Linked DNA regions of Homo sapiens: regions 1 and 2 are each linked to region 3. The links are contacts of gene promoters, found by promoter capture Hi-C in blood cells and fetal thymus (Javierre and others, 2016). All regions are on one chromosome and are shown on one strand. Each heading gives the region's core, a stretch centred on a gene start or on the middle of the fragment in contact. The rest is flanking DNA. Distances are from core to core; before and after follow the strand shown. Region 1 overlaps SMAD3-DT (SMAD3 divergent transcript). Region 2 overlaps SMAD3-DT (SMAD3 divergent transcript). Region 3 holds the start of AAGAB (alpha and gamma adaptin binding protein).

Evidence for each region. Contacts are between HindIII fragments. The CHiCAGO score rates a contact against its expected background, and 5 or more counts as called.
Region 1: a contact is called between a fragment that was not itself captured here and the fragment with the promoter of AAGAB in region 3, in 3 of 17 cell types (non-activated CD4 T cells, total CD8 T cells and activated CD4 T cells). The highest score is 6.0, in non-activated CD4 T cells.
Region 2: a contact is called between a fragment that was not itself captured here and the fragment with the promoter of AAGAB in region 3, in 3 of 17 cell types (total CD8 T cells, activated CD4 T cells and non-activated CD4 T cells). The highest score is 7.0, in total CD8 T cells.

What each region holds. Positions count from the first base shown.
Region 1 is chr15:67,008,543-67,012,787 of GRCh38, forward strand. The region is part of intron 2 of SMAD3-DT (SMAD3 divergent transcript); the gene reads right to left. Among named protein-coding and RNA genes, the nearest start is that of SMAD3-DT, 54 kb to the right of the region's middle. RefSeq lists a silencer at 78-256. The HindIII fragment of the contact is 4,855 bases long and covers 531-4,245 here.
Region 2 is chr15:67,026,761-67,030,859 of GRCh38, forward strand. The region is part of intron 2 of SMAD3-DT (SMAD3 divergent transcript); the gene reads right to left. Among named protein-coding and RNA genes, the nearest start is that of SMAD3-DT, 35 kb to the right of the region's middle. RefSeq lists an enhancer at 3,415-4,071. The HindIII fragment of the contact is 2,477 bases long and covers 1,204-3,680 here.
Region 3 is chr15:67,252,204-67,256,091 of GRCh38, forward strand. AAGAB (alpha and gamma adaptin binding protein) reads right to left here and starts at 2,458. Exons shown (of 10, transcript NM_024666.5): 1 at 2,356-2,458. The coding sequence starts at 2,428. It overlaps IQCH (IQ motif containing H), which reads left to right and starts at 2,583. Exons shown (of 21, transcript NM_001031715.3): 1 at 2,583-2,744. The coding sequence starts at 2,694. RefSeq lists an enhancer at 2,199-2,518. The HindIII fragment of the contact is 3,548 bases long and covers 574-3,888 here.

The sequences.
Region 1 (4,245 bases), core at 1,708-4,207, 240 kb before region 3:
AATGAAGATGAAAATAAGAGGAAGGTATGCCCATTCCAGCATAGAAGACTAGAAATAGCAAAGGCAACAATTTACCTTAAGTTTCTGTATAGATTTATTTATTTATTTATTCATTTATTCATTAATCTTGTTAGTATTGTTTTTGGAAACGGAGTTTCATTCTTGTTGCCCAGGCTGGAGTGCAATGGCACAATTTCAGCTCACTGCAACCTCTGCCTCCCCAGTTCAAGTGATTCTCCTGCCTCAGCCTCCCAAGTAGCTAGGATTACAGGCATGCGCCACCACACCTGGCTAATTATGTATTTTTAGTAGAGACAGGGTTTCATCATGTTGGTCACTCTGGTCTCGAACTCCTGACCTCAGGTGATCTGCCCACCTCAGCCCCCCGAAGTGCTGGGATTACAGACATGAGCCACTGCTCCCAGCCAGATTTAATGTACTACCTATCAAAGCCCCTAAAGGATACTTTATAAGACCTTGATTAAATGAATAGTGATGTCGTTACCAGATTAAATGGTTAAAAAGACTAAAGCTTCTCTTGAAAGGGTATGATAGTATATTTAGCCTACCAGATTTCATAACATATTACAAAGTGACAATTATCCAAACTATATGGTAACAATGGGGAAAAAATGATCAATGGAAAAGATTAAACTATCCCAAATTAATCCAATATATAGTAAAACTAAAAATAGTTCAACAATCCAGTGAAGAAAATAATTATCATATAATAAATGATTTGGAGAGAATTGTAATGTGGAGAAGAGTTACTCACACTTTGTACCATTTTCTGCAATAAATTGCATGAGATTATGTTCCTGTCTGAAAAACAAACCATAAAAAAGACTTGAACATGCAATCCCACATTGATCGTATTGGAAGAAAATCCATAATCAGAGACAAAAAAAATCAATTAAAAAATAGGAAACTTTTATTGAATAAAATATAGGACAGTCACAAGAGGAAAATAACAGCCTGGAAGAAATAACCAACCAGCGATACATCTAAAATTTATTAATTTTTGCTTTTTTACAAAAAGCTAAAATCAGTGCCCAGATTCCACTCCGTAAGCAACAAAGGAGGTGAACAGACAGTTTACACAGGAAGCACAGATGGTAAATCAAAACATGAAAAAGTACATAGTTCTACCAGAAACAAGAGGAATGCAAACACACAAGCTCTGGGTATCAGTGCATGCTTACCAAACTAGTGAAAAGAAAATGAAATCATCAAACCCTGAATGGGTGGGGCTGTGGGAAACAGGCAGGATGGTATAGAGAGGCTCAGGGCTGACCTGCAGCCAGACAGCTGGATTAAACATGGGCTACACCGTGTGCCACTTCTGAGACCTTGGGCGACTTATCTCTCTATGCCTTGGCTTCCTCACCTGTCAAATGAGGTGTAAATGAGTTGACATATATAAAGTGCTTGGAACAGTGCTTAGCATTTAGTCAGTACTCTATAAGTGCCAGCTATTATTAATATTTGTGTGGGGTGGTGGTTTTCTCTCAACTGTAGTAACAGGGCATGGACTTTGGAGCCAGAAAGATCATTCTTTCAACAAATATTTACCAAATGCCAGATCCAGGTGCAAATCCCAATTCCATTAATTACTAGTAATGTCGCCTTGTGAAAACTGCTTAGAAATCCTGAATCTCAGTTTCCTCCATCAGTAAAATGGAATCATAAAATCTACTACCTAGTGCTGTTTGAAGTGTAATGAGATACTACATATAAATTCCTAGGATGGGACAGGCACGTAGACATCCTTAACACATATTGGATTCTTCACTCCTCCTCCTAGAACGTCAGCTCAGCCCAGGTGTCCAGCCCAGATCTGTGATCATGCAATTTGCCCTCCACTGCCTGCCAGCTCAACCCAGCTAAGATCTTTAGAGCCCCAACCCCTGAAGGCCCATTATGCCATCTACCTCCAACATATGTAAATCAAAAGAATAACATCACCAATTCATAAAATAAATGTTGGTGCTTTTTCTTGTTGTCGTTTGTTTGTTTGTTTTTGAGACAGAGTCTCACTCCATCACCCAGGCTAGAGTGCAGTGGTGCAATCTCGGCGCACTGCAACCTCTTCCTCCTAGGCTCAAGCAATTCTCCTGTCTCAGCCTCCCCAGTAGTTGGGATTATAGGCGGCTGCCACCACACCTGGCTAACTTTTTGTATTTTTAGTAGAGACAGGGTTTCACCATGTTGGCTAGACTGGTCTCGAACACCTGACCTCAAGTGATCCGCGCCTGCCTTGGCCTCCCAAAGTGCTGGGATTATAGGTGTAAACCACCGTGCCTGGCCTAAATGTTGGTGTTTTGATGTGCCATGCAACTTACACATGTGCTGAAATACAGTTGTTTATTTCTGTATTATCTTTCTCCCTCTCGATTACTTCTTTTGGTCTGCCTGTTTGTTGCTGACCTTTTGCAGGTGGCTAAGCCAGCCCAGTGGGTCATCCCTGCCACTACCAAATCACCCCCATGGCATGCAGGCCATACCAACTTCAGATTCCTCCCTCCCCAGGGGAATTTACATTTTAGGTGGTGGGGAACAAGAGCTCCTGGGGGCCAAAAGCCTGTCACAGAATCGGCACCCAGTAAATATTTGTGGAATGAAGGGGTGAGTGGATACATGAAATGTTTCTGAACAGTAGAATTTGAGCTGCCATGGGAGGCAGAGGGGAAGGATAGCAATGCTATTTTTGCTATATTTTAAAATCCCCACTTCTCTTTAATGGAGAGACAAAGTAACCAGAACTCTTCAAATCACACTAGGTAAATTCAAGGCTGATATTTAACAGGTCGAGTGGCACAGATACTGACCAATCAGAATAGACCTGGAGAGCCGTGCTGGACTCAGCACAACCCCTTTGCTTGTGGATAATGGAAGCCCGGGGGTTCTGAAGGCTGGGGCTACAGAGGAGGGGACACTAAGGGCTTGAGGCAGCTGCTAGTCATCAACTGGTATGAAAACATTTCAGTACTCAAACAGCAAGCACAGCAGTGTCACACACATGATAATTAAACGTCAGCTCGGGTTAGGTAGCTGCATGAGAATCAAGAAACTTCTGCCATTTCCCCTCCCTAGGCCCCAATTTCTCGTCTACAAAACAATAAAACTTACTAGTCTTCAGGTTCACTCTAGTTCTGACTACCTGTGATTTTAATATAATAATAAGGAGAACAATTTATAAAAGCCAGCCTGGTATGGCAGAAAAGGCACATGCTCTGAAGCCGGTAGACCCAGTTCAAAGTCCAGCTGTTACTTACTGTGAGGCTCGGGTCCAAATCAATTAACTTCTCGGAACCTCCACTTTTTATTAATTCAACTAACATTTATGGAGCCCTTTTTATGTACCAGGTCCTAAGGACACTTTAGTGAACAAGACCCAGTCCCTTGCCATCATGGAACTCGCTGTTCTACCGAGGACTCTTTGGATGCAAGTGACAGAAACTGGCTCAAGCTAGCTTAGGCAAAACCAGAATGCATCATAAGAATGTAGCAAGCCTGGAGGGGCCCAGGAGGGAAAGCAACCAGACTTTGCTTAGAACCTGGACAGGAAGGCCACCAGCCTCTCTACCACCCTCAGCTACCTGCTGCATTACTCTCTTCTCCCCCTCAACCCCTCAGTTCTGATAAGCCTCAGTTAATATGACATCTCAATTCTAAACTCTCCACAAAGAATCCCAGCACTTGGCTGGGCGCAGTGGCTCATGTCTGTAAGCCCAGCACTTTGGGAGGCTGAGGTGGGTGGATCACCCGAAGTCAGGAGTTTGAGACGAGCCTGACCGACATGGCAAAACCCCATCTCTACTAAAAATACAAAAAGTAGCTGAGTGTGGTGGCTACTCCGCACCCGAGATCCTCCACACACACACTCTGCCTCCCGGGAATCTCTTGAACCCAGGAGGCAGAGGTTGCAGTGAGCCCAGATCGCACCACTGCACTCCAGCCTGGGTGACAGACTGAGACTTCATCTCAAAAAAAAAAAAAAAAAAAAAAAAGAATCCCAGCACTTTGGGAAACCAAGGCGGGTGGATCACTTGAGGTCAGGAGTTCAAGACTGGTCTGGCCAACATGGCAAAACCCTGTCTCTACTAAAAATATAAAAATTAGCAGGGCGTGGTGAGGCACTCCTGTAGGCCCAGCTACTAGGGAGGCTGAGGCCGAAGAATTGCTTGAACCCGGGAGGCAGGGGTTGCAGTGAGCCGAGATCACGCCACTGCACTCCAGCCTGGG
Region 2 (4,099 bases), core at 1,192-3,691, 230 kb before region 3:
TTTGGCCACTGTCAGGGTTGACACTTCCCACTACATTCTTCCTTGCAATTTGTGCTCCAGCTGCTCTGGGCGCCTCACTTTTTCCAGAATTCCTTTGCATTATCGTACCTCTATGCCTTTGCTCATGCCAGTCCTCCTACCTGATATGACTTGCCCTTTTTTTTTTCTTTTTTTAAACTTAATGACATGGAAAATTTATCATTTTGTAAGTGGAAGAAGTAAGTTACAAAACTGCATATATACAAATACAGGCTGGGCACAGTGGCTCACGTCTGTAATCCCAGCAGTTTGGGAGGCCGAGGCAGGCAGATTGCTTGCGGCCAGGAGTTCGAGACCAGCCTGGCCAACACGGCGAAACCCTGTCTCTACTAAAAATATAAAAATTAGCTGGGCATGATGGTAGGCACCTGTAATCCCAGCTACTCGAGAGACTAAGGCAGGAAAATTGCTTGAACCTGGGAGGCAGAGGTTGCAGTGAGCAGAGATCACGCCATTGCACTCCAGCCTGGGCCACAGAGTGAGACTATGTCTCAAAAAAAACAAACAAACATAAATAAATAAATAAACTTCCATTGTTGGTAAATAATATTTGAAGTGAATATATGAAAAAACCTCTGAAGATTTAAGCACCAAAATAACATTGTTTAGATCTGAATGGCAGAATAACAAATTATTTTATTTATTTTTTTCTTGGTGATTTCTATTTCTTGAATGTTCACAGAAAATACATATCATTAAATTGTTACTTTTAAGAAAAATGTAAGTTAATTTTTTTTTCATTAAACAATTTTTTTAAAAATGACTTATTACCCAACCAGGCGCAGGAGCACTTTGGGAGGCTGAGGCGGGCAGATCACGAGGTCAGGAGATTGAGACCATCCTGGCTAACATGGTGAAACCCTGTATCTACTACAAATATGAAAATTAGCCGGGCATGGTGGTGGGTGCCTGTAGTCCCAGTCACTCAGGAGGCTGAGGCAGGAGAATGGTGTGAACCCGGGAGGTGGAGCTTGCAGTGAGCTGAGATTGCACCACTGCACTCCAGCCTGGGCGACAGAGCGAAACTCCATCTCAAAATAAATAAATAAATAAATAAATAATGACTTTTACCATTTTGACCCTTTTTAAGTATGCAGTTTTATGACATTAACTACATGTGCATTGTTATGCAACCATCTAGGATGACGTTCTAACCTCATTTCAAGCTTAGCCGCATTCACTATCTTTCCAGGACTAGGGTAGTTTTCACCTTCTGTTTAAAACTTTCTCTGTCTCCTCCCACACCCCCAGCAGAAATGATGGCTCATCTCTCTCCACTCTCCTGTTTTGGGGAGTGTGTCATTATGTGTCACTCATATCATTCTGCAATAGTGGTCAAGTGAGCAGCCCCTAGAGCCTTCATTTCCTGTATTTGATACCTACCATTTGTGTCCTAGCATAGCTGGGGCAAGTCACTTAATCTATCCGTGCCTCAGTTTCTTCAACTTTAAAAATAGACATTTTCAGAATGGCTATTACTACAACATCAAAAAATAGCAGATGCTGGCAAGATTGCAGAGAAAAGTGAACTCTTATGCACTGAAAGTGGGAATGTAAATTAGTTTAGCTGCTTTCAGTGGAAAGCAGTCTGGAGATTTCTCAAATAACTAAAAATAGAACTACCATTTGACCCAGCAATCCCATTTCTAGGTATATTCCCAAAGGAATATAAATCGTTCTATTATAAAGACACATGCACACATATGTTTATCTCGGCAGTATTCACAACAGCAAAGACATGGAATCAACCTAGAGGCCCATCAGTGGTGGACTGAATAAAGAAAATGTGGTACATACACACCATGGAATACTATGCAGCCATAAAAAAGAATGAAATCATGTCGATTATCCTAAGTGAATTAATGCAGGAACAGTAAACCAAATACCACATATTCTCACTTATAAGTAGGAGCTAAACATTGAGTACACAGGGACACAAAGAAGAGAATGATAGACACCAGGGCCTACTTGAGAGTAAAGGGTGGGAGGAGGGTGAGGACTGAAAAACTACCTATCAGGTACCATGCTGATTACTTGGGTGATAAAATTACACCAAACCCCTATGACATGCAATTTACCTATGTAACAAACCTGCACATATATCCCTTGAACCTAAAAGTTGGAAAGGAAAAAATAGACATTATTAGTTTTATTTCACAGATAAGGACACCAAGGCTTACAAAGGTTAAGTTTGCCCAAGATCCCAAAGAGGGTAAGTAATGAAACACTTTTAAAGCAAGTTATCTGTTCCTAGAATGCACATGTTTAATCTGTGCCCCTCTAAATAATAACAACGCTGCCATTTATTGATCACTTATTATGTGGCAGGCTGTCAGCAAGGTATGTGGTGCAATAACCTATTTAATCCTCATAAGTAGCCCCATAAAAATGGTTATTCGTAGCCTTTCTTTTTTTGTTTTTTTTTTTTTTTTTTTTGAGATGGAGTCTCGCTCTGTCGCCTAGGCTGGAGTGTAGTGGCGCGATCTTGGCTCACTGCAACCTTCTCCTCCCAGGTTCAAGTGATTCTCCTGCCTCAGCCTCCTGAGTAGCTGGGATTACAGGCATCCACCACCATGCCGGGCTAATTTTTTTGTATTTTTAGTAGAGACATAGTTTCACCATCCTGGCCAGGCTGGTCTTGAACTCCTGAACTTGTGATCCACCCGCCTCAGCCTCCCAAAGTGCTGGGATTACAGGCATGAGCCACCGCGCCCTGCCCCGTAGCCCATTTTACAGATGCAGAAACTGAGGCCCAGAGAGGTGAAGTCATTTGCCCTAAATTCCTCAGCAGAATCAGAATTTGGTGACTATAAAGAATGCCTTCTTATTCACTACACTATGCAAAAACGGTTTGATTTCTCAAGTCTGTAACTGAGGACTCAATTGATGACTACAGATCGTTCTTATGACAGAGAAGGGCAAGGCTTTAGAGTTCAAAGACAGGGATTCAGCAAGGACTCAAAAGTATGGAGAAGCCTTCACAGAAGAGGCTGCACTGAGCCCTGCAGACTGGCGGTGGCAGACCCATCCTACCTGGGGCTGGCAGTGAAGGTGGGACTCCTCAGAAGCTGTCAGTTCTCAGTTAAGATTAATGAGACAGAAGTGGGATCTGGGCCAGGGCTATTGCCCAGGAGATACCACTGGAAGCCAAAGCCCCGCTAGAGATGACCAGTGTTAAAGATGAGCTCAATTCGGGAGATGCCCAATTAGAGCAGGGAGAACACTAGAGTTCACAGGTGCACTCAGCAGGTGTCTGAGCAGATGGCTGGGTGTGGGAAGGGGAGAGTGTGGGAAGACTCCAAATGGGCCTCTCATGGGGCCTCCTTTCCACAGTTACAGGCTTCTCTCCTGGAAGCCAAAGCCCTCCCCGCCATGGGTGCCCCTCTGTCAGCCTTAATGACAACTCAGGCCTCCAACAGGGCAAGATAACAGGAAGCATTCCAGGGAGCCAAAGGATAAGACATGCGCAGGGTGTGATGTGGAAGAGTGAAAGGTGGAGATAGAGGGGAGGAGACAGGCAGAGCACAGAAAGTGGGAGGGAAAGGGCACTTTGGAAGCAGCTGTTTATTTACAGTTGAGGCCTTCCTGGGAAATCAAGGTCACCTCTTCCTAAAGCCAGTTCTCCAAGCTCTGCTTGTCAAAGCTTTGCTAGTTGTGTTCAGGCTGTGTGCTTGAAAGTAACATTGCTGCCCTTTGGAGGAAATGCTAGTTAACTCAGGCCTTCTGCAGACAAAGCCTGGCCTTCCCACCTGCTGACCCCTTTCTTTTCTGGTGATCACCTGCTGGGTTCCCCCATTATGTCCACTCTACAATGTGCACGTGATGTGTGTGTGTGTGTGTGTGTGTCTGTGCGTGTGTGTGTTTCCAAAGGAAAGAGGGCTGAGCACGAATAACAGCAATACATCTATCATCCTTTAAGCTTTACCCTGATCCAAGATTGCTCTCAACAAATTCTCACAATGATCCCTCAAAGTAGATCTTTTTATTAACTCTTTTTACAGGTACAGAATCGTGGGTCACACAGCTAAGAACTAGCTGAGCTGGAACTTGAGCCCAGGCC
Region 3 (3,888 bases), core at 1,208-3,707:
GTTTGCCGATTGGGATCATTAAAGCACACAACAGAGCACCATAGCATTTAGAATAATTAATATTCCTGAGATTGTCTTGAAAAGACTTCCATGTATCGCTAATAGGATTCCTAATGCATGTAAGTCTTTTGGAAAGTTAGTTACATCTTTAAGAATCTTGAGCAAATTCTGGTTTATTCACTAGATGGATATATGTGAGAAACTAATTTTTGATAAATCTGAGGATAAGAACTGTGTATTTAAAAAATTTTTAAAAACAGAAAAAATTGTGTATTAAATGTAATTACAATTATTTCTTTTTAAGAAACTGCAATGGAAAAAAAGACTGGAAAGAAATGTTAGCAGTATTTGTAGTTGGGTAATGAGACTATGGCTATTTTCTTTTCTCTGTATGCTAAATTTTACTTAGTATGCACTAGTTTTACAATGAAACAATTAAAGAAAAAAGAGGAAGGAAGGAAGAAAAGAAGGAAGAAAGGAGGGAAGGGAGAAAATAGGAAGGAGCACTGCTTAAAGGTAAGAAAATGGCCTAATTAGACCAGTTAGTAACCACTTAGTTAAATGCTATAATTAAGCTTTTACCCTAGCAAGGAACTTTCTAAGTGATCACAAATGATAACTAAGTCATATAATATCTGCACTGAAGGGACATCTTACCTAATTCTGTCATTTGACAGGTGTAGCAAAGAAATTATAATTATACAATGCTTTACAGTTTACAAAGTGTGTTCAAAATGTCACATCATCTGTCCTTCAAATACTCCTGAAATAGGCTCATATGCCCCATTTTAAGGATCAGGAAATTGAGGGTTACAGAGATAGTAATGTGCCTTAATAATAATGTCTATGATTTATCAAATGTTTACTATGTGCCAGACTCGGGGATAAGCACAATCTTGCGAAAATTATCCCTATTTTATAGATAGAAGGTGAAGGGGCCGGGCGCGGTGGTGACTCACACCTGTAATCCCAGCACTTTGGGTGGCAAAGGCAGGCAGATCACTTGAGCCCGGGAGTTCCAGACCAGCCTGGGCAACATGGCCAAACCCCGTATGACGGGGGGGGGGGGGGGCAATTAGCCGGGCGTGGTGGCACACACCTGTAGTCCCAGATACTTGGGAGGCTGAGGTAGGGGGATGGCTTGAGCCCAGGAGGCAGAGGTTGCAGTGAGCCGAGATAACGCCACTGCACTACAGCCTGGGCAGCAGAGTGAGACCCTATCTCAAAACAAAAATAAAAAAAAGGAGAGAAAAGAGAAAGTGAAGGGTAGCCAGGCACAGTGGCTCACGCCTGTAATCTCAGCACTTAGGGCGGCCAAGACAGGAGGATCACTTGAAACCACGAGTTGGAGACCAGCCTGAGCAACATAGCAAGACTCTGGCTCTACAAAAAATAAAAAAATTAGCCAGGGTTCGTGGTGTGAGCCTGCAGTCCCAGTTGCTCGGGAGACTGAGGCAGGAGGATCGCTTGAGCCCAGGAGTTCGAGGCTGAAGTGAGCTATGATCGCATCACTGCACTCCAGCCCGGGCGACAGAGCAAGTTCCCGTCTCTTTAAAAAAAAAAAAAGAAAAGAAGGAAGGAATGTAGGTAGGTTAGGTGACTTGCTCGAGATCATACAGCTAAGTCACTGCTCTGATTCTAAGCCATACACTTAAAACAGAAGTCTTGAGTTACCTATAATTCAACTTCACAGAGCCCTTTAGTAGAGTTGGCTTATTATCCAGTCCCATGTTCTCTCTTTTAAGAGTTAGTAAGTCTGACAGCCATTATGAGGGTCTACAAGCAAAAGCACTAGCCCAATCATACCCAAAAACTCATGTTGGCGGAGAGCCCATGCCTCAGATGAAAGGCGTGAATAACTAGAGTGGAGCGGACAAAGCTAACAAGTCTTATAATGTACACATTAAGAAGCAGAATAAACTTCAGAGTAAATACGCAGAATAAACTTCAGAATTCAGAGTAAACACTCTCTCCCGGAGCAGCAAGGATAACAACATCACGATATCAACAATTCCAGCACCTTACACTCCTGTAACCTAGCGCAATTTCCGGAGAGCCTTCAGGTTCATCTCAACGGATCCTCGCAAAAACCTGTGGCCTGGGCTGAGCAGAGCGGGAAATCAGTCTCACTTTACACAGGAAGCCGAAAGGAACGCCGAAGAAGGCCGAGTGGGCAGAAAAGCACGAGATTAAGAGATAGGGGCAGCCACCTGGGGAGACTGGGCGCCTCCACTGACTGGAGGAAGAACGCAGGGCCCGCTGCGGGGACAAGGCCCAGAGAGGCCGTGGTGCTGGGTCCGTCGCCCGCTGAGGCTCAGGGGCCTTGGAGGTCGGCCCAGGCGCCTATCTACTCACGTTGGACCAGCTGGTCTCCTGAGAAGACGGAGGAGCAGCTGGTGACTAACGCACAGGGTACGCCAGCAGCCATAGCTGCGCTCGCGAGCCGGTTCCGTCAGGCAGCCGCTTCCGCCTTGGGCTGCACCACGGCCGCCGGCGCGAGGGGGAGACAGGCCGGAGAGGGCGTTCTCGGAATGACCAGGCTGGCCTGACCCCGCCCCTAGACCCCCTTCCGCTCCCAGCGTGGAACAGGCCAGGTCGCGCGCGGTGTTGCCATGGGGACGAGCGGCTCCGGCTGAAGGTTTCCGTGCTTGGAAACCGCGCCTCCGCGGAGGTAGCCGTTCCCTGACCTAGCCATGGCACAGAACACTGAAAACCACGACCCTGTCGGATCCATCTTAATCCAGGTGGGAAACGGGCTTCCCCCGGCCCTGCCCTGCCCAGCCGCGCCACTTCCGAGCGAGGTCCCGCGCGCCGATTCACCGACGCTCACCCATTTGGTGCGCCGCCCCTAGACTCCCTCCAACTCGCGAGAGGCTCCCAAAAATGCCCACCCAGACCTTCCCCCACGGCCCAGCACACTCCCGGTGACTTACCCTGTAGGTTACGCCCCAGAAGCAGGACTTTCTGCCTCTGGGAAAACTCTAAAACCGTTCACCCGGAACCTTTACTTCAGAAAAATTAACCTCACGCTGAGGCATCATTTTTAAATGTTATATTCTGAAAAATTTGAACCCATGACGTCGGGAGTGGAGGAGAGACAAATCGGACACTCTAGGAGGTGATAAGAAATTTGGAGACAAATTGAAATATGTGAATTGCTTTTCTTAAACACCCCAGTTTTTTAGATCTAAATGTTCCTCATTGGAGAACACACAGAAAAATCAAGATAACTTGGAATGAAAAAATGTGACATTTAAAAACTTAGTGAAAGACCTTTTTAATTTGAGAGGGGAAATGTCAAGAAAGTCTTGTCCAATACAGCTCAATTTGTAATAGTTGCACTCAGATGTTTCTGAAATGATCATGGCATTTTGTTTTCACATTTATGTGAGGTAACTTTAAGATATTTCCACATATATCATCGGTTTTAACTATCACATATATAATAGCTGCATTTGACTAAGTCTTGAAGTCATTTGTCTAAGGTCACTCTGTCAGGACTGTCACTCAGTTGGTCTGAAGTGGGTCTTACTCGTCAAAGGGATCTAATTTTTCTGGCAGAATTTTGATCTCTTACCTCCCATCTAGGAGAGACTTCCCTAAATGTACCTTTTCCCAAATACAAGCCCCTGAACTCACCAATTTCATAGACTTCCCCATTAAGAATCATACCTAATCTTACCTGATCTTTTCTCACCCTCACTTTCACCATCACGCAGCAATGAGTTTAGCCAAACTGCGAAGTCTGAGGGAACGGTCCACAAAAAACTGCCCTAACTTCAACACTCACTACCTGCAAGTTCAGGGGTCCCCAGAACCACCTCACTTCAGACCAGCTGGGTACAAACTTAGGGGCCCCATCACCACCCTCACATTCAATGATTCACT